Linked DNA regions of Homo sapiens: all the other regions are linked to region 6. Evidence: promoter capture Hi-C in 16 types of primary human blood cells and fetal thymus (Javierre and others, 2016). All regions are on one chromosome and are shown on one strand. Each heading gives the region's core, a stretch centred on a gene start or on the middle of the fragment in contact. The rest is flanking DNA. Distances are from core to core; before and after follow the strand shown. Region 1 holds the start of LOC124900692. Region 2 holds the start of PTTG2 (pituitary tumor-transforming 2). Region 3 overlaps TBC1D1 (TBC1 domain family member 1). Region 4 overlaps TBC1D1 (TBC1 domain family member 1). Region 5 overlaps TBC1D1 (TBC1 domain family member 1). Region 6 holds the start of TLR10 (toll like receptor 10). Region 7 overlaps TBC1D1 (TBC1 domain family member 1).

Region 1 (3,730 bases), core at 387-2,886, 730 kb after region 6:
CTTTTTACACTATATTTAGTTAGAGACACACTCCTTACTCACTTAACACCCTTCTCTCCAGATTTTTTTTTTAGCCCACCTATAAAAATTAGAATCTCCAAATTACAGAAAGTTTCTATTTTTCCTTCACTAGTAACATTATCACTATTGCAAACACCATGGTTTTTGTATTACTGTTGGTGTGTTTTACTAGTATCTTCCAAGTGGGATGACATGGATGGAACTGTATAAACATCCCTGCCTCGCTTTTTCACCTGGAAGAGAGGTTGTAAGATTTCCTGTCCAATTGAAGTTTGCACTGCCAGAATATAAATGTAAAACAGGCAGTCATTTTGAGCACCTGAAATAGGTGTTAAAAGGTACTGTTAAGATCTATTTCTCACAAGCACACTTGTGTGTCTTTCATGCCAAAGTCAGAGTGGGAATGCAGTGAGTCCAGCGGCTGCAGGCTCAGCTGCCCATGGCTCAGCCGCCCAGGCAAATCAGGAACAGAGTCTTGTGCACGCTTGGCTGGAGACAGTTTGCACAAAGCAGGGACCTCTGGGGAAAGAAACCTCAGAGCTCTAAACTGTCTTTGGATGTGATGTCTCTCAGCTGGAAGGAACATATGGAGACCTGCTAGTGTGGGTCAAAGTGGTCACAGACCACAGTGGAGGGCTCTGGCATCGTGCATCCTAAGGATGGGGAACAGACAGTGGCAGAGGACAAAGATGCCTGATTTGTCCTCTCAGACAGAAATCAGTTGCCATTCAAGCTCCAGTCCCACTGCTAACTATTAGGGAGGCGGTCAGGATGGAAGGGGGCGGAGGAGATTGACTGAAGGCAAGTACGTACATTAAAATGCCCAGAAACATGTTTTCCATTCAGTGTTGGTGTCTGGCCAACAGGGAGACATGCAGGTACACTGAGAGTCCACGCCCAACACAGATGCCTATAGGGAGCTTCCTGTGGGAAGAGGGAAGCACAGGCAGGACCACCTCCAGAGGGTCCCGCAGCGTCCTGCATCTCTGGCTGCAGCCCAGTGCTGTGCACAGTTCAGAGAATGAGCTTTGGAGCTCAGACCCGCGAGCTCAGGTCCTGCCTCTGGCTCCCACTAACTCCCTGGTTTGGGGAAAGTGATTTAAGCCACTCCCAGCCTCCACTCACCCACCTGTAAAATGGGCTTCATAAAAATGTCGATGTTCTTAAGATTGTCTAATTAAAGGAAATAATTCATGTAAAGCACTTAGCAGAGTATAAAAAGAGCATAATATGTGGCTATTATTATATTAATTCTTCCTTAATAATCCTTTTATTCTCGTTTTTCTTTTGCATACACAGAACACTTAAACAATGTTATTCAGAAATTCAGGCGGCTTGGTTCTGAGAAGAGATAAGAAATAATATGTGCCTATAGAGACAGAGGAGGCATGAGGAGGGAGTTGAGAAATCACTAATCACTAAGTTTGCAAGAATCTGAGCCACTGACTTGCCTGCCTTTAGCAGCCATCAAGCCTGCAGGAGCTGCCGGAGATGGGTGACAAAGATGAACCTGTGAACATGTGTTACAGGGAGAGAGCTGCTATGGGAGAGTCAGGATACAAGGGAAGGGGAGGGAGGGAGCCATGGGGATACTGACGAAGAGCATTCCAGGCAGAGGGAATAGCCTGTGCCAGGGCTCGGGTGGGGCATGAGGGTGAGTTCATGGCTGGCATGGCACAAGCCAGAGGGGCTAGTGGGAACCTGCATCAGAGGAAAGGTGGACATGGATGGTGATCTCTGCCTAGCGCTGACAGGGGTCTCTAGACATCTTCCTGCAGGAGATTGGGTGGTGGGGCACAGGAGGGAGAGGAGCTGACTTGTTTGGGGTCTGATGAATCAGGGGTGATTACGGCCTAGGAACAGGAGGAGCAGCATCTATGCCAGGCCCTGTTCTGTTTGGTACTTTTAGCCATTACTTAAAGGCACAAAGGCCATGTTTGTCCACTTGACAGGCAAATATATACAACTTACTGGTCACCAGACTCAAGACTCAAAACAATCGCAAAAGGACTGCTCAAAACTGATGAATACTTTATAGGTACAAACTATGCGAGGGAAAAAAACTTCTCAAGTATAGACATGACTCCCCCACCCCGCGAGACAAGGTCTCACTCTGTTGCCCAGGCTGGAGTGCAGGGGTGTGATCACAGCTCACTGTAAACTCAAACTCCTGGGCTCAAGTAATCCTCCTGCCTCAGTCTCCCAAGTAGCTAGGACTACAGCTTCACAACACCACGCTCAGCTAATTTTTATTTTTTTGTAGAGACAGGGTCTCACTATGTTGCCAAGGGTGGCCTCGAACTCCTGGCCTCCAGGGATCCTCCTGCCTTGGCCTCCCAAAGCACTGAGCTTACAGGCATGGTCAACTGTGCCAAGCCAGGAAACCAGTCCAAATTTAAATAATGGTTCATATCCCAAAGGACAAGATAGAATAAGAGCCAAGAATGTTTGAGTTAATCACTTAAAGCAGAAACAGATTATGAAGATCAATCTGCATTAACAGAGCAGTGGCAGGTCAACGGAAGGAGCAACACACTGCCAGAGCCAGAGGCCAAGTGAACACCAAGTTCAACTCAGGACTCCAGGAGGGGCAGAGGCTCTTCGGAGGACAGGACTCGGACCAGGGGTTCCCAAACAGTGACGAGGGCAATTCCCCTGGAGAAGAGAGCTAAAGGAGGCAGCAGCTTCCATGGTCCTCTGTCATCTGAAGGGCAGGAAACAGATGCAAACACATTTCCGTGTGGCTTCAGAGACCAGAGAAGAAGCCAGGAATCAGAGGACAGGGAGGCAGGATGCGGCTCAGTCTGTGAATGCTCGTTTGAAAACTTGGAACTGTTCTATGATGGAGCAAGCAGTCATCTGTGGCCCCTAACGCATCCTGGCCACTGCACAAAGCATTTCCGAGCAGAAATTTCCAAGCGACCATGCCCTGTGAGGTATGGCCACCGCAACACCGAGGCACTCTTTATTAAACACCGAAACTTGGGTTCTGGCACCCCTTTCAGACATGAATCAGCTTCGTTCCTCCTCCAGGGCCTCCCTCTGGTGGCTCTGGTTCCCACTGCTCCACTCCACACCCTCTAACAGGGTGCTACAGGACCTGGGAGGAAGAGCCCTTCTTTGCGGTAAGCAGACCTCTCCACGGGGCAGGGGAAGAGAGATGTGGCCATCTGGCTCACACTGGCAGGAAGAGAAATCAAACCCTGGCTAGGCTCAGCAGCTCCACCGAGGGGCCACCCACGGCAGGAATACTTTATAGGTACAAACTACTTGAGGGAAAAAAGGTGCTGGTGAGTGGCAGCTCCATGGTGCCCCCACATAGAAAGGCTGGGGCAAAAGAAGCAAGGGGCCAGGCTCACCCGAAGGACTTCCACAGCATGGGAGGTGACATTACCCTGGAAACATTCGCATCACTGATTTTCTTTCCAGTACTATGAATTTTGAATGCTTTAAAAAAAATGTATCAGTAATGATATCATGCTGCCTTGTCTCTATCAGTGTGGCAACAGGCATAATTAATCCCAGGTTATAGGTGGTAACTTTAGACAGTTTATTCTAGTTCACAGCTCCTAAGGGGAAAAGCTGGGATTTGAAAGCAGACTCCGAAGCCCACGCTTTGGTTACAGCGGGTAGCTCGTCAGACATGAGGACGGCAGGAGAGGGCCCTTTCCAGATATGCACCAGCAATGTCAGGCGACCATCAGGTGTT
Region 2 (3,560 bases), core at 126-2,625, 820 kb after region 6:
TAGTTGGCTTTTTGTGGAATAACATGTTCAGAGACATAACCACCACTCACTTTCAGTAGAAAGAGCAAAACCACTAACATGTATAATGAATAGCAGCTCCTGGCCTAGGAAACTCACTAAGTCTTGGAATTCAGGAACCAGAGAGGAAACCCTGAAGCCTCTCAGGTGATCTGGATTGACACCAGACATCTGTGACTCTATCAAAGCTTTGTACAGAATTCAAGGCATGGACATAAAAGTGCTTTAAGTTGTAAGACATTAGCAGAATAAGATACGGGATTTCATGAACATTATTTAGCCATATAGACATTTTAAGATAATCAGTGTTAGTCCTAGCTGCAAATATGTTCCCTATTTTTTTTTAGCATTCCACAAAATTCTCATTCTTTTAATTATCTCCCTTTGCTGCTAGGACCTCCTTAAGGCTTTCATCTGGTTCACACTAGGCTGGGAAGAAAAGATGTAGAAGTTCTTGGCCTGGCCCTGGCCTTTTCTCCTTTATCCTTTGCTATTTCCTGTCTCCTGTTTCTCTACAGAAGTAAATCATGTTGACATATCCCCAAAGAGTACGGGCTGTAGTATGGAAGAAATATAGAAACAAGGGACAGCTGAGACAGATGCACATAAAGAGGAATATGACCCACTTTATATTTATGTATTTATTATGTTGTTAAACAAATAATGCTTTATTAATACAAGTACACACAAACTCCAAAGCACTAAGAAATTTAAATATCTATGTCATAGCAAACAGCTGGCAATTCAACATCCAGGGTCGACAGAATGCTTGAAGGAGACTGCAAACAGATTGCATTCCCATGGTGGAGAGGGCATTTTCACAGGTGAAGGGGGGCCCAGCTGAAACAGCTTTTCAAGCTCTCCCTCCTCATCAAGGATCATGAGAGGCACTCCACTCAAGGGGAGGTGTGCAATCTGGCGCTCTTCAGGCAGGTCAAAACTCTCAAAGTCTAGAAGATTGAAGGGAAAGAATTTTTCTATTTCTGGATAGGCGTCATCTGAGGCAGGAACAGAACTTTTTGTTTTAACAGTCTTCTCGGTCATCTTTTTGGCAGAAAAGCTTGGCTGTTTTTGTTTTCTGGGTCCATTGGTCTTTACTGACTTTTCTGTAGCTCTGTTGACAGTGCCCAAAGCCTTTCTGGTAGCTTTAGGTAAGGCTGATGGAGCATCGTATGTTTTGCCAAAACGTCGTGTTAAAACTTGAGATATCCCATCTAATGCTTTGATTGAAGGTCTAGACTCCAGCTTCAGCACATCCTTGGCAGCCACACGGGTGCCTGGTTCTCCAATTTCCTTATCAACGTAGATCAGAGTAGCCATTCTGGATTATTGCCGCTCTCAACAGCCACATTCATCTAAGACCGTGGTCCCACTTTATATTTAGATAGAATGTTAACTATAGTGGAAATTGGTGTAATATCTAATTTTTGTGCCTAGCACATCATCTGAGAGTTAGCATGAACTCATATAAAGAGCACAGGCCTGAGGTCAGACAAACCTGGGTAGGAATCTCGGGAGTACCACTTTCTGTTAGCTGTAAGATTTGGGCAAGTTAGCTAACATCCAAGCCCTATTTCCACATCCATAAAATGGAGGTAAAACCCAACTCTTACACATTGTTAAATGGTCAAAAACCACTTAGGTAAAGGGCAGAGCAACCAATAAATAAATAGTTTCTGCCGTTATTGCATTTTCTAATTTATAATGTACTTTTGCATACATTATTTCACTTCTTACTAACCTTTAATAAATGCAAGTCTTCCATTTTTTACTAAAGCAGCACCCCTGAAGTTTCTCTAAACTGCAAAATGCTCAAATGTTTCATCCCGAGTTATCCCTTTTGCCAACTCTGATCTACTGGTGGCAGACAATCCAGCATGCAGTGGTGGGGAGAGCCGAGAGGCCCTCTCTGAGCAACGTGACTACTAATGGTGCTTGCTTGGGCAGGAATACTGGACTATGGCAATGACTATATACCTTTGCCAACCCAACCCCAATCTAGTCCAGGCTATTGATTCACAGCAGCAAAGGGTCACTTCTGTTTCTAAGGCCTAGAGATAAGTTGAGGGCACTTTTGCAGTGAGCCATTTCAATTCAATGATAAATATTCTTGTTGTCTAATTCATTCTATGAATCTTTGACCCAGTGACATATGTGCGTACGTATTTGAGCCCATATGCAAAAATATACAGTTGAGTCTTGAACAATACAGGATTGAGTCGCATGGATCCACTTGTTCTCAGATTTTCTTCTGCGGCTGCCACCTCTGAGACTGCAAGACCAACCCCTCCTCTTCCTCCTCCTCCTCAGCCTATTCAACGTGAAGACAATGAGGGTGAAGACCTGTATGATGATCTATTTCTACTTAATGAATAATGCAATATGTTCTCTTCCTTATGATTTTTCTTAATAACATTTTCTTCAGCTTACTTTATTGTGAGAATACAGGATATAGTGCATAAAACATACGAAATATATGTTAGTCGACTGTGTTATTGGTGAGGTCAACGGAAGACTATCGGTTAAGCTTTTTGGGAGTCAAAGGTTATAGGTGGATTTTCGACTATGCAGGTGATTGGCGCCCCTAACCCTCACATTGTTCAAGGGTCAACTGTGCCTGTTTATTTGCATAAGGCCACCTCAAATACAAAGGGCCATTCAAAGGTATCATTAGAAGTCTTGCTCTTAACCTGACACAGCTAGCTAGAAAGTGACAGAGCCATGACTTGGACCTGGTATATCAACTGATTGATGTAACCTCTATATGGAGCTTGTAAATTCAAGTGCCACCCAGAGTCAGTGAGGGAATGTAAATATATGATGTGCCAGTGGAAGACAATGGGGAACGGGGAGACTGGTGGGGTAGAGTGTGTGTGCCAATCTGCAGGCATTCCAATTGAATTGTTTTTCTTCAAACACTATGGTAGGCAACTTTTACAATAAAGTTTGCAGGCCACCTGTCTGTAATCCTGTCTCATTATACCATTAGCAGGAATTATTATTAAACAACTTCTTTCAACTCTTCCGACACATTCATTTTTTATTAACAGCCTTCTAATAGTACTCTGAATTGGGGCAGAAATAATTAAAGTAAAAGATGTCATATATGTGTCCTAAAGAAGGGACAAATAAAGGAGGTCTAGAGGTGTGAAAGCAAATCTAATCCAGGAACACTTTCTGGAGGAGGTGGCATTTGAGCTAGGAGAGATGGAATGCTTAAGTAAGAGAAGGAGCTAGGAGAGACGGAATGCTTAAGTAAAAGAAGAGGAAATCTCCCCAGGCAAAAGAAACAACAATGAACAAAACAGAGGAAAGCATGGCTACGAGGAAAAATTAACTGTCCCATTTTGCTGGAAAATAGAGTACACCATCTTGGAACAAAAATAAAAAATATGAAGAATCATCTGGGACCAGATATGGTCAAGGTTCTTGATTGCCAAGCTAAGGAATCTGGTGTTTATTGGTTAGAGATGAAAATGGCCTGCTCAGAGAATGGGTTTTCTAGGAGATGAATCTGCTTTGTTGATCTTACAGACTCTTTC
Region 3 (3,640 bases), core at 355-2,854, 690 kb after region 6:
GGCAGTGCAGTACGGTGGTGTGAACCCAGCTCTGTGGCCCTAAGCCACTATTCAACTGCTCTAAGCCCAAGTTTCCTTATCCATAGAAAGGGAAAATGCGTAACAAACAATAACTTCCCATGATTACTAAAATTGATGTCAAAATTCAGAAAAGGTTAAAAATGCCTAAAAAACTATAGTAAAAAACACTGCTTTGTTCCATTTATGCTCCTAGAGATGAAAAATGCATATGCAGGCCGGGTGCAGTGGCTCACATCTGTAATCCCAGCACTTTGGGAGGCCGAGGCAGGCAGATCACCTGAGGTCCAGAGTTCAAGACCAGCCTTGCCAACACAGTGAAAACCCGTCTCTAGTAAAAACACAAAAAATTGGCCGGGCACGGTGGCTCACACCTGTAATCCCAGCACTTTGGGAGGCCAAGGTGGGTGGATCATGAGGTCAGGAGATCGAGACCATCCTGGCTAACATAGTGAAACCCCATCTCTACTAAAAATACAAAAAAAATTTACCCGGGCATGGTGGCGGGCACCTGTAGTCCCAGCTACTCAGGAGGCTGAGGCAGGAGAATGGTGTGAACCCGGGAGGCAGAGCTTGCAGTGAGCTGAGATCACGCCACTGCATTCCAGCCTGGGCGACAGAGCAAGACTCTGTCTTAAAAAAAAAAAAAAAAACCCACAAAAAATTAGCCAGGCATGGTGCCGGGCGCCTGTAATCCCAGCTAGTCAGGAGGCTGAGGCAGGAGAATAGCTTAAACCTGGGAGGCAGGGGTTGCAGTGAGCTGAGATCGCGCCATTGCACTCCAGCCTGGGCAACAAGAGTGAAACTACATCTCAAAAAAGAAAAAGTGCATATACAACGTTTTCCCACTGCACAACTGATAAACTCAGGAAAAACCCATTCTATACATACTTGAAACCCTTATTCAGAACACCTGGTTATTCATGATGAGCTCAACCAGAACTCAGTAGCATAGAATCAGATTAGACTCAGGCTTTTACTCTTGCCAGAAGACATTAACATATATTTTTAAAGAAATCATTGTTTGACTAGAACACTAATAATGACTGAAGGTAAGCTTCAAAATAGCGGTTCTCAAACTATCTGTGAAGCATCAATTTTTTTTCTTTTTAAAAATTTTCCAATCTACTACAGGCTGATATTTTTATACGATACAGTAAAAATAAATTAGTAGAAAAACAAAATTTAAAAAAAAACAGATGGACAAAATATAAGTCCACATTTTTAATTAGGATCACTGTGTCACATTGCTGGAAACATTTCCAAAAGCTTAGTTTCAAGTTCTGTACTTATCTCTTCTTGGACCAGTAACAGTTTGGGCTGGCAGATCTCACTGAAAAAACAGTGAATCCTGCCCGCTCTCTAAGGCCTTACAGTATAGCAGACACATGCTGTGTGCTCCTCACAACATCCACTGTCAGCACCCACATCTTACACTTGTAGAAACTGGAGCTCAGAGAGGGTGAGGCATTTGTCTAAGATCACACTGCAAAGTAAGTGGCAGGCCTGAGATTTAAGCCCAAGACCACCTGTCTGAAGTCTGTGCTCCCCACACTATGTTGTCTCCCTAGAGTACCCAGAGACAAGCCATACAATTAGTTTCTAGTTTATAATTTAATTCAAAGTATATCATCAAATCATTATCTAGTTTATAGGCAACAAAACCCTTGGGTTTTTCTGTCTTCTTCCTATTTCCCGGCCTTCTGGGAATTTTAATTAAGAGGAATCATGAAAGGTGGTGAAACTCATGTCTATTAAGTAAGGTATATGGAAATAGATTAAGATGTGATGAAAAGAAGGGAGATGGCCACTAAAATTAGACTTGACTTTTTTTTAATTCCACACTTCTCCCCAATCACCAATGAGGGGTGAGGTTGACTAGATGCTTCCCAATGAAGCTTACCTTGCCCAACAGCCGAGTGCATTTTTTCCATGTCAAACTTAATTTTTGATCTTCCTGGAGTGCTAAGCATCTTTTCCCACACTGTAGTTACTTCTTTAAGACAGGGAGTAATTTCTTCATAATCGAGCTTCAGGCGCTTGTTCAGCAAATCATTTTCAGAGGCTGGAATAGACCATTCCAGAGCGCATTAGTAAAGGCTACAGCTATGGAATTTCCATTACACAACATGGCTGCCTACTTGTTATCCCGCTGAGACGTCAAGCAGTTACAACTGGCTTAACGCGTCTAAATATAAGTCACTGTCCATGCCTCTACCCATTTTCCTCATTTTGGAAAATGCTAAAAACCTAGGAGGTATGTGATTTCTCTTACCCCTTCACCCCCAACATACTCTGTTGGCTCTACTGCTAAGACATAATCCACATCTGCCCAATTCTTTCCATCTTACCCCTATCAAACTATGAGCCTCCCCAGGACAGGAGCTACGTGTTGTTAATAAAATTCCCAATGACTAGCATGGTTACAACTTGATGCAATTTTTTTCATCTAAACTAGGAGAGGCACTCCAAAGATCGTTTTCTTATTTAGAGCCAAACCTCCATTTGGTAGCTTCTACCATGGGTCCCATTTCTGCTTCTTGGAGTTAAACTGAATAAATCTACCCCTTTCAAATGACATCTCTCAAATATATGAAGAGAGCTACTGTTTCCCACCAAACTTACTCAACCTAAAGCTGCATGAAGAATTATAACTAAATTATCAAGCCCAGGGGGGAGTAATATCAATAAAGGGAAATGTTAAATTGACAATTTACATTGATTCCTGGACCCAACCTCTTATTTCATGGCCACAGAAACTGAAGTTCAGGAGGATCAGGTGATTTGGTGCTGGTTATTTACTAGCTAGAGGGAAGCCAAGTGACTCTAAGCCCAGTGCTGCCTTCCTCTCAGCTTTTATGGTTTTCCATCCACCATCTTTAATCTTTTCCCTCGTACTCTGTTGAATACATTTTTAAAAATGTCAACCCTAGATTTTTTAGCTAAGAGGCTGGGAGGCTCAGCAATTAAATGACCCCCACACTTGCAGAGATTTTAGAACTGCAATGAATATTTGATTTTTAAACCATCATGTATTATTTAACCAAGAAAAATGTTTTTTAAAAAAATTTTTAAAAATGTCAACCCTAGATTTTTTTTTTTTTTTTTTTGGCTGTGATTTGGGCTATGAGAAAACACAATAAATGTCACTAGAGTTGAGCTAATCCTTGCAGCAAATCAGGTTTGGGGCTAGCCTTGCTGCACTGCAACTGGCGGCAGCACTGGACTCTGGATGCCAACGTACGTTCCTCTGGCAGTAAGGCTGCTACAAGCACGTCTGGCCACCCTAACAGAGCCCAGCAGGCAACATGAGCATCCTGCTCTGTAGTCGACACAACTTCACACAGCCAGAAAGAACTGGCCAGAAGATTCAGCTGAAAAGGCTCAATCCACAAACATCCTGCTGTTTCCGTATCCTAACAACACTGCTGCCTAAAATCAGTGGCCTCCAAAATGCCTTATCAACCAAGGCAGATGGTGCAGAACTACAACAAACACCCAGGCTCCAGGGCAAGAACTTCAGATACAGGAACCAGCTGTTCGCAATATTAAATAAGACCCCCACACACCCATGCGGTTTGTAAGCTTGTAGAGATAGGGGAAGAGGACTGACTGAGATCAA
Region 4 (3,764 bases), core at 528-3,027, 740 kb after region 6:
GAGGCAGGAGAATCGCTTGAACTCAGAAGCCGGAGGTTGCAGTGAGCCAAGATCATGCTACTGCACTCCAGCCTGGGCGACAGAGCGAGACTCCATCTCAAAAATACAAACACACACAAGCAAATCCCCCATTACTCTAAATACTGATATATTCTTTGTTGCAGTTATTTCAAGCACACAGAAAAGTGTAGAGACTAATATAACAAATACCTTTGTATCACCACCTGGCTTTGTTCAAGTGAGCATTTGCCAGGGGTTGAGAACAGTGAGAAGCCCAGCTCTGGAGTGCAATGCCCAGGTGAAATGTTCCTCTGCTATTCCCTGGCTCTGTGGTCTTGGCCAGACTGTTACCTCCTGTCCCTTTCAGGTCCTCTACCTGCAGCCTGAAGACGTATAGTGAACTTTCCTCGCAGAGCTGTCATGAGGCTTAAATGAATGAATACAAATTAAAACACATATACCAAGGCCAGGTGCAGTGGCTGATGCCTGTAATCCCAGAACTTTGGGAGGCTGAGGCAGATGAATCACTTGAGGTCAGGAGTTCGAGACCAGCCTGGCCAACATGGTGAAACCCTGTCTCTATTAAAAATATAAAAATTAGCCAGGTGTGGTGGTGCACGCCTGTAATCCCAGCTACTTGGGAGGCTGAGGCAGGAGAATCGCTCGAACCCAGGAGGCAGAGATTGCAGTGAGCTGACATCGCACCACCGCACTCCAGCTTGGGTGACAGCGTGAGACTTGTCTCAAAAAATAAAAATAAAAAATGTAAACCAGACAATCAAAAAACATCAGATATCATGACTATTACCTACTCTATGAGCTTTTTTTGTTTGCTTGTTTTTTGGGATGGAGTCTCACTCTGTCACCCAGGCTGGAGTGCAGTGGTACGATCTTGGCTTACTGCAACCTCTACCTCCTGGGCTCAAGTGATTCTCATGCCTCAGCCTCCCGAGTAGCTGGGACTACAAGTGTGCGCCACCACATCTGGCTAATTTTTGTATTTTTTTTGTAGAGATGGGGTTTCGCCATGTTGACCAGGCTGTTCTCGAACTCCTGGCCTTAAATGATCCACCTGCCTTGGCCTCCCAAAGTGCTGGGATTACAGGCGTGAGCCACTGTGCCCAGCCTACTTTCTACTTTTAATGGGAACCACTGCAGACATCTTTGAAGCTTAATCACCACTACTTCCCCACACCTGGCCATATGCAGAAATATTTGGTGTTTATCCTATCAATTCATGTTTTCTGCTTTTATATGTATGTGTCCATAAAAGATATGTAGTTGAAACTAAATGAATGGTGTCATACTGTACACATCCTTCTGTAAATTAGCTTTCTTCTTTCAATATTATTTTTGAGATTTATTCCTGTTGACAAATTTTTTTTGATTCACTCACTTTAGTCAGAGTGCAAATATTCACTGCATAACCTAATTTATCTATGTTCCTATTGTTAAACACTTATTTGCTTTTTTTTCTTGCTCTTACAAAGGAGGCTGCAGTGACCTCTCTTATATAGAGCTCCTTATAGACTCATGTGAAATGTTTGGCAAGGGAAATAATGAGGAATGTCCTCACTGGGTCACAGGGACTGTGCCCCTTCAGACTACACCAGATATTATCAAGTTTCTCTTCCCTGAATGGTACAAATTCATGTTCCCAGTATCAGTATAGGAAAGTTCACCTTTATACGGTATTGTCACTTTTTAAAAATTTCTGCCAATCTAATGGGCATAAAATGTTCCTTGAATATGTCCTCCCCTCATTCTACTGCTGTTAGGTATTATTTTATTCAGTCATCTGCTGTTCGAAGACCTTATGTCTTCTTTGAATAATGAAATCCTAATTCACTAATGAATGCTACACATTTTTCAAAGCATAAAAGAGAAAGAATGGATTCTCATAAAAGCGACATTCAGCTTTGTCCAATTATCCATAATTGGACTCTCTATGAGAATGAGAATATGCATCAAAAGAATGGCTACTACCTTAGAAATTCCTTTGAGAAGGGGAACTATCATTTACCTTTGTGTTTCACACTATAGAGCGTACCCTGGACATGTAATATTGGCTTGTTCAAAATGAGTGAATGAGCAATGATCCCCAGGCAGGTCCACGGGAAATACACGCCTAAGGTAACAGACTCACTCAGCAAATAGTGACCAAGTGCCTGCTAAATGCTACGCGCCACAGGGAGGTGCACAGAATCTGTTGCAACCGGTTCTGTGCAATCACTGACCAAGTGTAAGTGCCTGTCCAGGCTCGAGGCAGCCTCCAGAGTGAAGGGAATTGCCCACAAAGGGCTCCCAGGGGCCTGCCTTCAACTCAACACCAGTTACAATGTTAAGAAAATGCAGAATTGCTTTCAAACTCATAATAAAGCTTTCATAAAAGTGAAGCAAGCTGAATTGTTTTGATATATAAAGAAAATATGAGCCAGGCGCAGTGGCTCACGCCTGTAATCCCAGCACTTTAGGAGGCCAAGGCAGGCGGATCACGAGGACAAGAGACGGAGAACATCCCATCCAACACAGTGAAACCCCGTCTCTACTAAATATACAAAAATTAGCTGGGCGTGGTGGCGCACGCCTATAGTCCCAGCTACTCAGGAGGCTGAGGCAGGAGAATCGCTTGAACCCGGGAGGCGGAGGTTGCAGTGAGCCAAGATTGTGCCGCTGCACTCTAGCCTGGCGACAGAGCGAGACTCTGTCTCCAACAAAAAAGAAAGAAAGAAAGAAAGAAAATATTAGCTAAAAGACTAAAGCAAGCAGCATCAGTTAGTAGATCCTAAGAGACAGAAGTGCATTTGTATGCATGTGTTTTTAAAGCAGGTCTGAAGAATCTCTGTGTACTTAATTCAATGTTTCTTCTGCTCTCCCCTACTATCAAAAAAGAGTCTTTTCCACGTCTATTGCCATAATTAAAATAAAATGTTTAAAAAATTGCATTTAAAAAATAATTCACATTTAGAAATGACTTGTTTCTTATTTATCTTAAAACAAGTATCTAGAAGTTTCTCCTTGGAAGATGACACTGGTTCTTAGACAATAATTTCTTTAAAAAAAAAAAACAGAGATGGGGGTCTCGCTATATTGACCAAGCTGGTCTCAAACTCCTGGCCTCAAACAATCCTCCCATCTCAGCCTCCCAAAGTGCTAGGATTACAGGCGTGAGCCACCGTGCCTGGCCCTCACAGACAATAATTTCTAATTTGGAGGCTCCACAGTGAATTCTATTGCAGTCATTATATTGCACATCCTTCAACAGATGGGGTAAACTCTAAGCATGAAAGTTTGGATTCAAGTATTCAAGCTTTAAATCCTGATGCTATACTGAAATTCTCAGTTCAGAACTCACCATCCCAGGCTGGCACAATGTATCTACCAGCAGCCTTATTCATAATCAAGCAGCTCAGAAGGAGAATGGAGAAAGAAACTCTTGACATTAATACCACAGAACAAAAAGGAACAAACTACTGATACAAGCAACTGATACATGCAACAACAAACTACTAATACATGCAACAATGTAGCATAACGTTTCTGATGAGTCTCAGAAACGTTATGCTAAGTGGAAGGAGCCAGAACTCAAAGAGTATGATGCCGGCCAGGCGCGGTGGCTCACACCTGTAATCCCAGCACTTTGGAAGGCCGAGGTGGGCAGATCACAAGGTCAGGAGATCGAGACCATCACGGCTAACACGGTGAAACCCCGTCTCTACTAAAAATATAAACAATTAGCTGGGAGTGGTGGCAGGCACCTGTAG
Region 5 (3,705 bases), core at 1,100-3,599, 670 kb after region 6:
TTTTATTTTTTCAGGGACAGAAAAGAAGGAATATGAATTCTTATAGTAAAGCAAAATGGGAAACTCTTTAAAGGTTCTTGTAGATAAAAGTGAATAATAAAAATCTAGTATTTGGGGGGAAAGGAAAAGAGAGAAGAAGGGTAAATGCTCACTTATATTAAAAAGCAAATTTTAGGATTTCTAGAATTTGGATATTTAAGATGTTTACCCAAAGCATGTCTGAAGTAGTATCAATGTCTTTGAACATTTCCCTTAAGATGCTCTCTAATCATAAAAACAAATTTTTTAAAGATCACATGTTTTTAAGCTGTCAAGTGATGCTTAAAAACATTTGATATATAATAACTATCATTTTTTTAGTAGCCTCCTCCTTTACAATAAAAAAAAGAACCTGAATTGTCAAAAATATCACTTTTATTCTGCAGTAGGGAAAACAAACTGTGCCCGAACTGACCATGCTCACAACATTCCACTCGGTTCCTGATGCGCACGTGGACAGCCCTATCCCTGCATATGAAGGCAGGTTGAAGGCTTTGTGTATGAACACTCACCTAACTTTGACAATGTTCTCAAAAAGTAAATCAAGAATATAAAGGCAGGTTTTACATGTGAACCACCCAAGGTTAACAGCGGGGGCACGGGAGTGGCAGTGGCTGTGACATGTGGGCTCAGGGGCAAGAGGCCTTCATGAAGTGTCAAGGCTGAGCGGGGAGAGCGAGCCATCCACACGGAGGTGTTACTCAAGGTCCTGACACTGGTCTCCAAGACAGTGACTTGGGAGAAAGTGTAGAGCCAAGGGCAGGGCAAGAAGAGAAAGGGGAGGAAGAGATGCCAAGGGAATCTAGAAAGGGCCCAGAGGCCCACAGTCAGCATCAGTCAATACTCACAACCCAGAGTGGCTGAGGAAGGCAATTCATGAGAAACATACACCTGTGGCTCCTCAGCCAAGTCCTCCAAATGTCTGCTCTAGGGAGACCCTCATGGTGAGCGATCGGATCTACACGGATCGGATCCACATCCCACAAGATGAAGGCATCTAGGGAAGCCCCGTGATTATCAGAAGTTAAGGAGGACTCCAAAGTCACAAAACCCACCCCTGACTAATCTTAGACTATCAAACAATACCCTGTTCTGGTAAGAGCTACAGGTATAAAAATAAGAATCACCACGGAGAGACAGGAAATGTTTCCCCTCTAATAAGAGAAGGCTGGTTCTGGCAAACAGATTTACTAATGCTCACCAAAGACTCTGGCTACGAATCCCAGCGGGAACTGTGAGGCAAACATGGTGAGGAACCAGGGGGCAGCGTAGAGGCTGGGGCCGATCTCGTGCTCCTCCAGGTGATTGTAGAGGTCTCTGTGGTAATCATGAAGCAACCTCGAGAGCTGGTACATCTGGATCTGCAGGAAGACAGCCACAAGGGCTGAGAATTAGGGATCTGCCACAGCAATAAAGTTATGCCTACTGCTCACAGGGTGGGTGTAAGAGAAGACTTACTAGAACTTTAAACATTCGATTTGGCTTGCGATCCACTGAGCTCAGCTACTAATTCATCCAACAAGTGCTTCCCAAGTGCCTGCTGGTGCCAGGCACTGGCTGGGTGTAGGCCCAGGACGCTAACGCTGGGTCTTCTACTGCCACTTCCTTTTTATTGTTCCCTTGTATTCCTCCACTAAGAAGATCTAAAAATCTGTCTTGTGCAAACATTTCATAAATTCTCTTACAAATACATACTCTTTGCACAACTCAAGCCTGGAGGAATTAGAAATAAGAAGCCAGTCTCTTTACTAAGACTGAATTAGGGGCATCTTATGATTCCATAGGAATCCATTGTACATGTTCACTCAGCAAGTTCCCTCTGGACCCCTGAAATTACTCAATAGGCAGGAGAAGCATAATTTCTTTTGGTGTATAATATATGGAATATCCAGATACCTGGCAAGTTAAAACAAGAAGACAAGTGTGCATCTTAAGATGAAATAAAAACTTTTTCCAACTAAAGTGGAACTCCAACTTCACAGAATGACATGATTCTGGCAGAAATCTCATGCCAGTTCCTAGTAGTGCCACCAAGAGTTACAGGCTCACAGAGGCCCGAGAGCCAGCCCAGATCTGAGCAGTGCCACGGCCTGAGCCTAAAGAAACAACAACCTACAGAGGGTCAGAATCCGCTAAGATCCACCAAGTTGGATATGTCCTATCTAAACTGAGAGAAAGAAAACAAAACCGTTTTCAGAGGCTCAGATAATATAATCCCATAAGCACCAGCTGTGGCTCTCCCATATCGAAGACTGTCTAATCAACCAAAGGCACCACCCCAAAAGAGTTGTGTGTTACATAAATTATAGAAAACTCAAAAATTCCACTGCCTGGTGACCACTGTCTTTAAAGTTAATAAAGGGAATGTAGGAAGAACCTCACAGTACATGTGGAAAGTGTTATGTGGTCAAAATCTTTCAGTGAATGAGTTCCTTCTATGATATTTGCATTCACGTGGTCCATGTTCACAGGTCAAGGTGAAAAGATTTTGAATCACATAATTTGGTGCTCTCAAAGCAAGTCCTTGGCTCTAATGTATTCCCTCCCAGGATACTCTCTAGAGCTCTGAAGGCATAGTATCTTACTGGTAGTAAATGAACATATCAACATGTGCTGCAACATTTAGGAATATTCCTGAAGCAGGATCCAGAGTTTTCCCTCTGACAGGCAGCAAGAGCAGCACGTGGTATTTGCAATACGCTACTGTGTTTGGTTTTCTCTGACAGAATTGTTCATTCAACAAATACTTATGGGGTGCCTACTTCAACCCACGCACTGTTTCAGAAACTAGGAACTCGGCTCCAAGACCCGTAAGATCCCTTCCCTCTCCTAAAGTTCACAGGCTATGAAAAATCAGAAAATAGACAGGGAGATGATTATGGAAACAAGATCATTTCTGGCAGTGGCTGTGTTGTGCAAAAGAAATCAGCCAGGATAACGTGACGCAGTGTGCCCAAGGTGGAAGTGGGGAACACAACATCAGGGTAGTCAGAATGAGCTTCTCCCAGGATGTGATATTTGAGCTGAACCTGAGATGACAAGGGTGGGGGTGAGGCAGAGGAAGAGCAGATGCAGAGGCTGGGAGGTAGGTCTGAGATCATCTGATGGCTGATGGGGGCAAGAGGGAAGGCCCTAGAGTCAGAGAGGCCTGGGTTTCCAGTCCAGCTCTGACACTTGCTAGCTGTGTGACTGGGCCCAATTTATAATCTCTTGGAGACTCAGTTTTCCAATCTACAAATTGAGACGATGAACAGTGTCTTCCTTAGAGGGAAGTGCAGATGAAGCGCTTGGAATAATGCCTAGCACAGAGTCCTTTATCAGCAGTGACAGCTATTACAATGTTACCTGACGGTGAAAAAGCTCCTGAGGCACATCTGGAGAGGGATAAGAAACATTCTTAGCATTTTGTTGTATTAAAGACATAAGGAACACTCTATACCTGTAAAATAATCATGTCTGGCCGATACTGTTTCCGCAGCCCCATGTCAAACATCAGAAACTTGAGCATTTTAAACGCCTCTTCCTCACTCATATGAAGAAGCAAAATGCCTGCTACAAAGCTGAGACCTTGGCAATATCCCACTTCCTGGTCTAGAAGTGAGTAGGCCTTCAAAATGTTGTAAAGCGATAGCTGTCCTGCTCCAAGCTGGGCAGAGAAGTATGGGT
Region 6 (4,049 bases), core at 536-3,035:
AAAGGCCTCTAGGTCAGAGGTCTCCAATCTTTTTGGCACCAGGACCAATTTCATGGAAGACAGTTTTTCCACAGACCGGGTTTGGAGATGGAGGAGAGATGGTTTCGGGATGATTCAAGCACATTACATTTATTGTGCACTTTATTTCTATTATTATGACATTGTAATATATAATGAAATAATTATACAACTCACCATAATGTAGAATCAGTGGAAGCCCTGAGCCTGTTTTCCTGCAACTAGATGGTCCCATCTGACATGATGGGAAGCAGTGACAGATCATCAGACATTAGATTCTCATAAGGAGCACGCAACCTAGATCCCTCCCATATGCAGCTCACAGTAGGGTCCAAGCTCCTATGAGAATCTAATGCTGCCACTGATATGACAGGGTGTGGAGCTCAGGTGGTAATGCAAGCGATGGGGAGCGACTGTAAATACAGATGAAGCTTCATTTGCTTACCCACCACTCACCTCCTGCTGTGTGGCTCGGTTCCTAACAGGCCATGAACTGGTACCTGTCTGTGGCCCAGGGGTTGGGGACCACTGCTCTAGATAACTCCTTTCCACCCTCTTCCTGCCTGATTGCTGAAATTATGGAGTCACCATTCCTACTCCTGCCCATCATCACATGACTGCCCCACCCAACTGATGAAAGGGATAACCGACCTGCACCTTGAAGAAAAGCATCATCAAAGAGCTCTAAGATGCTGTGGAAAACCAGTATGGTAGTTCTGCAAAAAATTAAACAGAATGGTCATACGATCCGTGAATTCCACTTCTAGGTATAGACTCAAAAGAATGTTAAGTACCAACTTAAATAGATATTTGTGCACCACGTTCACAGCAGCATTATTCACAAGAGCCAAAAGGTGAAAACTACCCAAATGTCCATTGATGGATGAATGAATGAACAAAATGTGGGACGTACATACAACAAAATAGTATTCAGCCTTAAAAAAGGAAGGAAAGATTCTATTATTCTATGTAATAATAATAGAAATGATATGGATGAACCTTAAAGACATTATGCTCAATGAAATAAGCCAGTCACAAAAAACCAAATATGGTATAACTCCACGGACATGAGGTACCTAGAGTAGTCAAATTCACACAGACAGAAAGTAGAATTATAGTTTCCAGGGTCTGAGGGAAGGGGAAAATGGGAAATTATTTTTTAATGGCATAGAATTTCAGTTTGGGATGACGAAAAATCTTTGGAGATGGGCAGTGGTGGTGGTTGCACAACAGTGTGAATGTACTTAATTAATGCCACTAAATTGTACATTTAAAAATGCTTAAGGTCAGGCGCGGTGGCTCACACCGTAATCCTAGCACTTTGGGAGGCCGAGACAGGCAGATCACTTGAGCTCAGGAGTTCAAGACCAGCCTGGGCAACTGGCGAAACCCCGTCTCTACAAAAAATACAAAAAACTTAGCCAGGCCAGTTGGTGAGCGCCTGTAGTCCCAGACATTTGCGGGACTGAGAAGCCCAGCCTCTTGCGGGCTTTAGCGCAAGAGGTCAAGGCTGCAGTGAGCAGTGATCACACCACTGCACTCCAGCCTGGGTGACAAAGTGAGACCCTACCTCAAAAAAAATAAAAATAAAAATAAAAATAGAAAGATGGTGAGCATGATAACTCCTATGTTATGTGTATTTGACCACAATTTAAAAAAGTGCTAAGATTATAATGAATATATATAACATGCAATACCAGTAGCATGCAGAAGAGGGCGGATGGGGTTTAAGCTTTACAGAAAACCTCGATTCAATTCCCTCCTGCAGCCAATTCTGACCGTGTCAACGAATCATCCACGCACCTGCAGCTCTGCTGAGAGAGTGCAAGCCGTGGGGTAAGAACCTTAGCTTTGTTTGTTGTAACTCTCATTAAAAAGATATAAGGGCTGCATGGGTATTTTCTAAAAAGGAGATAATTTGAGCTAATATTGAGGGGAGGGAAGTAGGGTTATTTAGATTTTTAGTATTTACTATTTTGTCTAGATTAATGATTAGTGACCTTGGGGCTATTGATCTGAGGAATTTCTTGCAGATGCTTGAGAGCGTGGGTTTCTTTTCACTGATTGCGGATCAAACCTGGTCAGCTCTTCTATTCAGATTGAACGGTCCTATGCACTGTGGCAAGTTTTTTCTAGCTCTTATTTCCCCACAGCGTATGTTAACCTCTGCTGGATGAAACCTTTGGCTATTTAAGGCATATTTGTTGCTCCTTTACCCCGTTGAAAAGTTCTGCATTTGTGTTACCTGTTTAAAAGTAGGGGCAGATCTGATGGATCTTGTACAATGCAGTTCTTATTCCGTTTCCTTCAGAAGTGGACAAAGAGGGCCATATGTGGTTGCTGTAAAGAAGAGGATGGTTAACAACCTGTGAGCATTTGGTTTCTTGATAAGCTTTCTCCCAGACCACCTACACTGAGCTATTAATTAGGAATAGGATGCACTTCGAGTTTTATTTCAATTCTTGTGAACTTATAACTTTCCTAAGAATATATTTATACATGTAGGCAAAGTCTCTTGAACTTTGTGGCACCTAGCAGAGTGTCCCACAGCAGCTGCATGAAGCTTCATAGACAGGGGCATGGGGTGAGAAAGGAGGAAGTGGCCGCCATGGCAGCTGGTCAGATCAATGGATTCAACCTCAGTGATTCGGTCCTTAGGATGTCGTTACATCTTAAGCCACCTCATTTCAAGGTTTGAGGTGCCTTGCATTTGGGTTTAGTTACCATCCAGAAGGAACCAGACAGGTCTGGGTTCAAATCTCTGCTTCTTCAGTTGGTCATCTTGGGCAAGTTACTTTACCTCTGGGCTTTAGCTCCTCCATCTGTAAAATATGAATAATAATGGCCGCCATTTTGTTGAGTCATTGAGGGATTAAACAAGGTAATGGACATAAAACACTTAGCTCCATGTCAGACACGTAGGAAATACTGAAAAGAAGTCATTCTTACTCTTATGTTGCAAAGATCATTCAACATTCAATAGGTTCTTAATCTCTTTTCTATTTCTTTATATCATTGGGAAAAGATAAATTAGATGATTAAATATTCTTTGGTAAAACACTAGTTGTCATTTGATGATGTCTTTTGACTTGGACTTTTAAATTATAAGATATTAAAGATGTATTAAGGAAGGTCATTCTCTGTTTTTTACCTGCTTTTAACGTAGTAGTAGGGATATGATATTAACATATATATACTATTTATAGACTACATCACCAACATGGTGAAACCCCATCTCTACTAAAAATACAAAAATTAGCCGGGTGTGATGGCAGGTGCCTGTAATCCCAGCTACTCAGGAGGCTGCGGCAGGAGAATCGCTTGAACCTGGGAGGTGGAGCTTGCAGTGAGCTGAGATCATACCACTTTACTCCAGCCTGGGCAACAGAGCGAGACTCCATCTCAAAAAAAAAAAAAAGTGTATGTCCTACTTTTAAAATTGCTTTAATGAGGCCAAGCACAGTGGCTCACACCTCTAATCACACCCATTTGGGAGGCTGAGGTGGGAAGATTGCTGGAGGCCAGGAGTTTAAGAGCAGCCTTGGCAACATAGTGAGACCCTGTCTCTATGTAAAAGTTGTTTTTATAAAATGTCATAATGCATAAGTATTGCCTGAGAGATAGGACCTTTACTATTGTTATATTAAGAGAAGTTCAAAAAGAGTTCCTCTCCCATTGTAGTCCCAGATAAGACTGTGGTATTGGGCAGGGGGAAGAAGTGGGTAAGAGATAGAAACTCTGACTTCTCAGCGCAGAGTTCCAGCTAAAGCAACTGGGTTAGATTCTGCTGCATTCTTAAGGGGCCATGGCTCTAAGACCTAGAAGCTTAAAGTCAATTGCTACAAATTAAGCACTCTATGAGAGGATAACATTAAAAGCACCTTTGTCAACCTAATGATTATAACTGCCAGGGTCCTATCAAGCCATAATAGAGCCTGAGGCAAAAGAAACAATCAGCAATACTGATCCTGTCTTTATGAAAAATTTCGATATTTTGTTCAACATAGATTTTTGCATTAATTTTCATTTTT
Region 7 (3,524 bases), core at 165-2,664, 700 kb after region 6:
GAAGCTCCGAGAAGCAGGAGGCCAGGGAGCCTGGAGCGTCTCAGGGAAGACTGGGCAGAAAGGAGAGAAGTCAAAGAGGTCTGGGACAGCCTATGAGGGGCCAGCAACGAACACGCAGAGTGGAAGGAAACAAGCAGGCCCCGGGAGCCACGCAACTCTCGACCCAAGGGATTGGGACTCAGCTCCTTTAAAGAGTTTATTCTTAAATTATGCAAAACTATCATAAAACTTCACATATACTTCATATATAGATATCTGACACTTTCATATAACTTTCTACATATAAAACCTTATAAGAAACATATCATAAGGTGTTTATCCCTCCCCTACCTTCCTGTGACCAATCATGCATTCAATTCATCGCAGAACAGTGATGAAAGAAAACCAAGCTCCACCCCTAAGGAGACAGCTGAGCAGGCCAACTTCCAGGTCTGTGTGCCAAGGGGTCAAGGGCAGCCCATAAGGTGGCGAGAGTGCAGAGGGCGGCTGTGCAGGTCCAACCTCAGAAGAGATGATCCCAAGTGAGACGTTCGTCGGGGTGAGGAGGGGTGGGAGTGGGGAAAGGGGAAAGGTCCAGTGCTGAGTTCTGACACACGACTGGGAAGGAGATGCGGGGCAGTCCCACCTTGGCAAGTGTGGGAATTAAAAGAAAGCAGCATGATGAATTTGATGACTGCAAGTAGTTCCCCACGGGGCCCAGCGAAGGGACAGGGAGTGCCTGCAGATGCTAAGAGGTGGGTCAGGTCAGGTGGTCAGAAGGAAAAGGGCCTCCTGTGCTGGGCAAGGCCACCATCCTGACCACACTCTGAAGAAGAGGTGAAAAACAGCAGAGAGTGCATGGGCAGTAACCACATGGAGTTACCCTGACTGCTGCCCACACTTAACCCTGTGATCTCATCCACGTGGATTTTTTTTAAAAGATGTCAGACCACCCAACATTGGTCGTTTACATTGTTCACTCTGTGATTACAGCTGCTGGTCAAACCTACTCAGCTTGGACCTCACTGTGGGCACAGAGGTCAGGACATCTGACCACTCCCTCCAGCAGCACAGGGGTCACAGCTGACAGAACCTAGACCATGAGTTCAGTCTACGGGAGAAGTTCTCAAAATGTGGTCCCCACACGAGCTTCAGCCTCAACACCACCTGGGAGCTTGTTAGAAATGCAAATTCTTGGTCCCACCCCAAACCTACTGGATCAAAAACTCTGGGGTAGATCCAGCAACCTGGATTTGAACAATTGGGAAATTCTAATGCACACAAAAGGTTGAATCTCTGGCCTTTGGCGTTCAGCACTTTTTTAGCCACTTACTTTACATTACAGTTACCTTAATTGGATATTTCACGTTATGTGACACTAGGGAACAAAGGTACCTTTTAAATACATTGTTTTAAATTAATTAAGCAATGACTCTACCCATTATGGATGGATGACCTGACCATTAAATAGAGTTTTAAAATGTAATATAACTTGCTTTTTTTTTTTGAGATGGAGTCTCGCTCTTGTTGCCCAGGCTGGACTGCAATGGCACAATCTTGGCTCATTGCAACCTCCGCCTTCCAGGGTTCAAGTGATTCCCTTGCCTCAGCCTCCCAAGTAGCTGCAATTATGGGTGCACACCACCACACCTGGCTAATTTTTTTGTATTTTAAGTAGAGATGAGGTTTCACCACGTTGACCAAGTCAGGTGTCGAACTCCTGATCTCAGGTGATCTGCCCGCCTCGGCCTCCCAACGTGCTGGGATACAGGCATGAGCCACCACACCTGGCCATATCACCATGTTTTTCAAACACCAGTCAAGTCGCACTTTCATCTTTGTCAAAGGCAAAGTTCAAAGCCAAAGACTGAACTAAATACCATTTTCTTAAGAATGTATTAAGGGGCCGCTCCCTGCTAATCCAGATCAACAACCTACACTATTACAGCAATAACAAATTTCCTTCCAGAAAACTTCCAGATCTGAACATAGTCAGAGACAGACTGATGACTCACCTAACATAAACAGAAAAATATACTACTAAAAGCTAAGATCACGATTTCTCAACCCACATCATTTAGGCATCTACAGAAAAGCAGCTCATTACAACCCAGCTTTCAACCCCTCCACCGTGGGAGCCTCCCCTCCAGCCCTGGCCTCCTCAGCCCAGGGTACTCCGGGCTGTCACACCCTGCTGAGAAAGGTGGGCTCAGTATCTCAGGGCCTTTCTGCTTCTGTTTCTACTGAGACATGGTGAAAAGAAAAGCAAGCCAACTTCCTCACCCTCAAATCTCCCCTAACAAAGTGTTATGAGGGTCAAAACTAGACCTGGAAAGAGAAAAGTGGCTATGTTACAGAGAAACAGCTATTAAACTATACCCCGTGAAGCTCTGGTTGCAAAGTCCATGCAGGAAGCCAGGGAGTGGAGAATGGAGCTCGGGCTGCTCTAATAAAATCATAGGGACTGGGTGGCTTAAACAACACACATTTGTTTCTCACAGTTCTGGAGGGGAAGTCCAAGATCAGGGTGGCAGTACAAGTGTATTCTAGTGAGAGCCCTCTCTCTTCCTGACTTGCAGAGAGCTTCCTTCTTGCTGTATCCTCACAGGGTGAAGAGAGAGGAAGCTCTGGGGTCTCTACCTCTTTTTGGGATGACAGTAATCCCATTCATGAGGGCTTCACTCACACAATCTCATCTAAACTTAATCACCTCCCAAGGGCCTCCCTTCAAACACCATAACACTGTGCATTAGGGCTTCAACATAGGAATTTTGGGGGGACACAAATGTTCAGTCCATAGCAGGAGCAAATCTGATTCCAAGCTACCCCATCCCTAAAACAAAGCAGGTTTGATTTAACGTTTTACAGAGCCTCTGACAACTTCCCTTTTAAAAAAGTTCAATCTGTACCTAAGAAAAAAGGAATATGTTTAAAGCCCAGGAAACAAGGCTTTATTACGATGGAAAGGCATGGGATGGCCTTGAGCTGAGCCTCAATGGATTGGCACAATTCAGAATTTTTTTGAAGCGGGAGGGAAGGCCTGGGGGTGCCAGAAAGGGATTTGTTTGAGCAAAGTCACCAAGTACTCTGGCTCAGAGCTGTCCTTTCTTTTGAATTCACAGCACTTGCTTTCTATGTCATTAACGTGGCCACCGACCTGTGCTGCTGTGCGGCACCTTTCATCTTTGCTGTTCTTTAACTTTAAGCCAGGTCCTGGGATCGGACTTGAAAGTGGACTCTAGCGTCTGGTCTGCTTTCATCCCGCTTCCTCACCCAGACTTCTTCCTTGTCAACACAGGACAACCTGACCTACCCCATCGCAGGAAGCAGATTTAGAATACTACTTCCAACCCACCCCAGTTCCACTGCACCAACCCAGGGTGACGCATAACATGTGCTTCCGAGTCCCTGGATTATCATGGAGTGCAATGCCAGCACTTGACATAAAAGCCCAACATCTAATTAAAATCGCTTGAACATCCAGAAGACAAGGGAGAGGGGAAAAAAGGATGACGACGGCTCCCCAGACTCAAGACTTGAGAAAT

The links. Contacts are between HindIII fragments. The CHiCAGO score rates a contact against its expected background, and 5 or more counts as called.
Region 1: a fragment that was not itself captured here is called in contact with the fragment with the promoter of TLR10 in region 6 in 16 of 17 cell types (total CD8 T cells, naive CD4 T cells, fetal thymus and 13 more); the score reaches 30.1 in total CD8 T cells.
Region 2: the fragment with the promoter of PTTG2 here is called in contact with the fragment with the promoter of TLR10 in region 6 in 5 of 17 cell types (total CD8 T cells, erythroblasts, M1 macrophages and 2 more); the score reaches 9.1 in total CD8 T cells.
Region 3: a contact is called between a fragment that was not itself captured here and the fragment with the promoter of TLR10 in region 6, in 11 of 17 cell types (naive CD4 T cells, naive CD8 T cells, total CD8 T cells and 8 more). The highest score is 11.5, in naive CD4 T cells.
Region 4: a fragment that was not itself captured here is called in contact with the fragment with the promoter of TLR10 in region 6 in 7 of 17 cell types (total CD8 T cells, erythroblasts, fetal thymus and 4 more); the score reaches 7.7 in total CD8 T cells.
Region 5: a contact is called between a fragment that was not itself captured here and the fragment with the promoter of TLR10 in region 6, in 4 of 17 cell types (total CD8 T cells, M1 macrophages, fetal thymus and 1 more). The highest score is 5.7, in total CD8 T cells.
Region 7: a contact is called between a fragment that was not itself captured here and the fragment with the promoter of TLR10 in region 6, in 13 of 17 cell types (fetal thymus, naive CD4 T cells, activated CD4 T cells and 10 more). The highest score is 8.7, in fetal thymus.

Annotation. Positions count from the first base shown.
Region 1 is chr4:38,055,196-38,058,925 of GRCh38, reverse strand. The region is part of intron 14 of TBC1D1 (TBC1 domain family member 1); the gene reads right to left. It overlaps LOC124900692, which reads left to right and starts at 2,777. Exons shown (of 2, transcript XM_047416508.1): 1 at 2,777-3,146. The coding sequence starts at 2,960. RefSeq lists enhancers at 1,177-1,346, 3,409-3,730. The HindIII fragment of the contact is 8,507 bases long and covers 1-3,730 here.
Region 2 is chr4:37,958,213-37,961,772 of GRCh38, reverse strand. PTTG2 (pituitary tumor-transforming 2) reads right to left here and starts at 1,375. Exons shown (of 1, transcript NM_006607.3): 1 at 645-1,375. The coding sequence starts at 1,338. The coding sequence ends at 763. All of the region lies in intron 2 of TBC1D1 (TBC1 domain family member 1), which reads right to left. The HindIII fragment of the contact is 1,467 bases long and covers 1,081-2,547 here.
Region 3 is chr4:38,094,372-38,098,011 of GRCh38, reverse strand. It overlaps TBC1D1 (TBC1 domain family member 1), which reads right to left. Exons shown (of 22, transcript NM_001396959.1): 16 at 1,922-2,083. Among named protein-coding and RNA genes, the nearest start is that of PTTG2, 140 kb to the right of the region's middle. The HindIII fragment of the contact is 629 bases long and covers 1,290-1,918 here.
Region 4 is chr4:38,039,255-38,043,018 of GRCh38, reverse strand. The region is part of intron 8 of TBC1D1 (TBC1 domain family member 1); the gene reads right to left. Among named protein-coding and RNA genes, the nearest start is that of PTTG2, 81 kb to the right of the region's middle. The HindIII fragment of the contact is 1,210 bases long and covers 1,173-2,382 here.
Region 5 is chr4:38,115,728-38,119,432 of GRCh38, reverse strand. It overlaps TBC1D1 (TBC1 domain family member 1), which reads right to left. Exons shown (of 22, transcript NM_001396959.1): 18 at 3,479-3,705; 19 at 1,241-1,400. Among named protein-coding and RNA genes, the nearest start is that of PTTG2, 160 kb to the right of the region's middle. RefSeq lists enhancers at 941-1,110, 742-1,243. The HindIII fragment of the contact is 5,058 bases long and covers 1-3,705 here.
Region 6 is chr4:38,780,726-38,784,774 of GRCh38, reverse strand. TLR10 (toll like receptor 10) reads left to right here and starts at 1,785. Exons shown (of 4, transcript NM_030956.4): 1 at 1,785-1,854. RefSeq lists enhancers at 2,464-2,633, 2,696-2,905. The HindIII fragment of the contact is 660 bases long and covers 1,753-2,412 here.
Region 7 is chr4:38,077,691-38,081,214 of GRCh38, reverse strand. All of the region lies in intron 14 of TBC1D1 (TBC1 domain family member 1), which reads right to left. Among named protein-coding and RNA genes, the nearest start is that of PTTG2, 120 kb to the right of the region's middle. RefSeq lists enhancers at 2,053-2,162, 2,263-2,432. The HindIII fragment of the contact is 4,572 bases long and covers 1-3,524 here.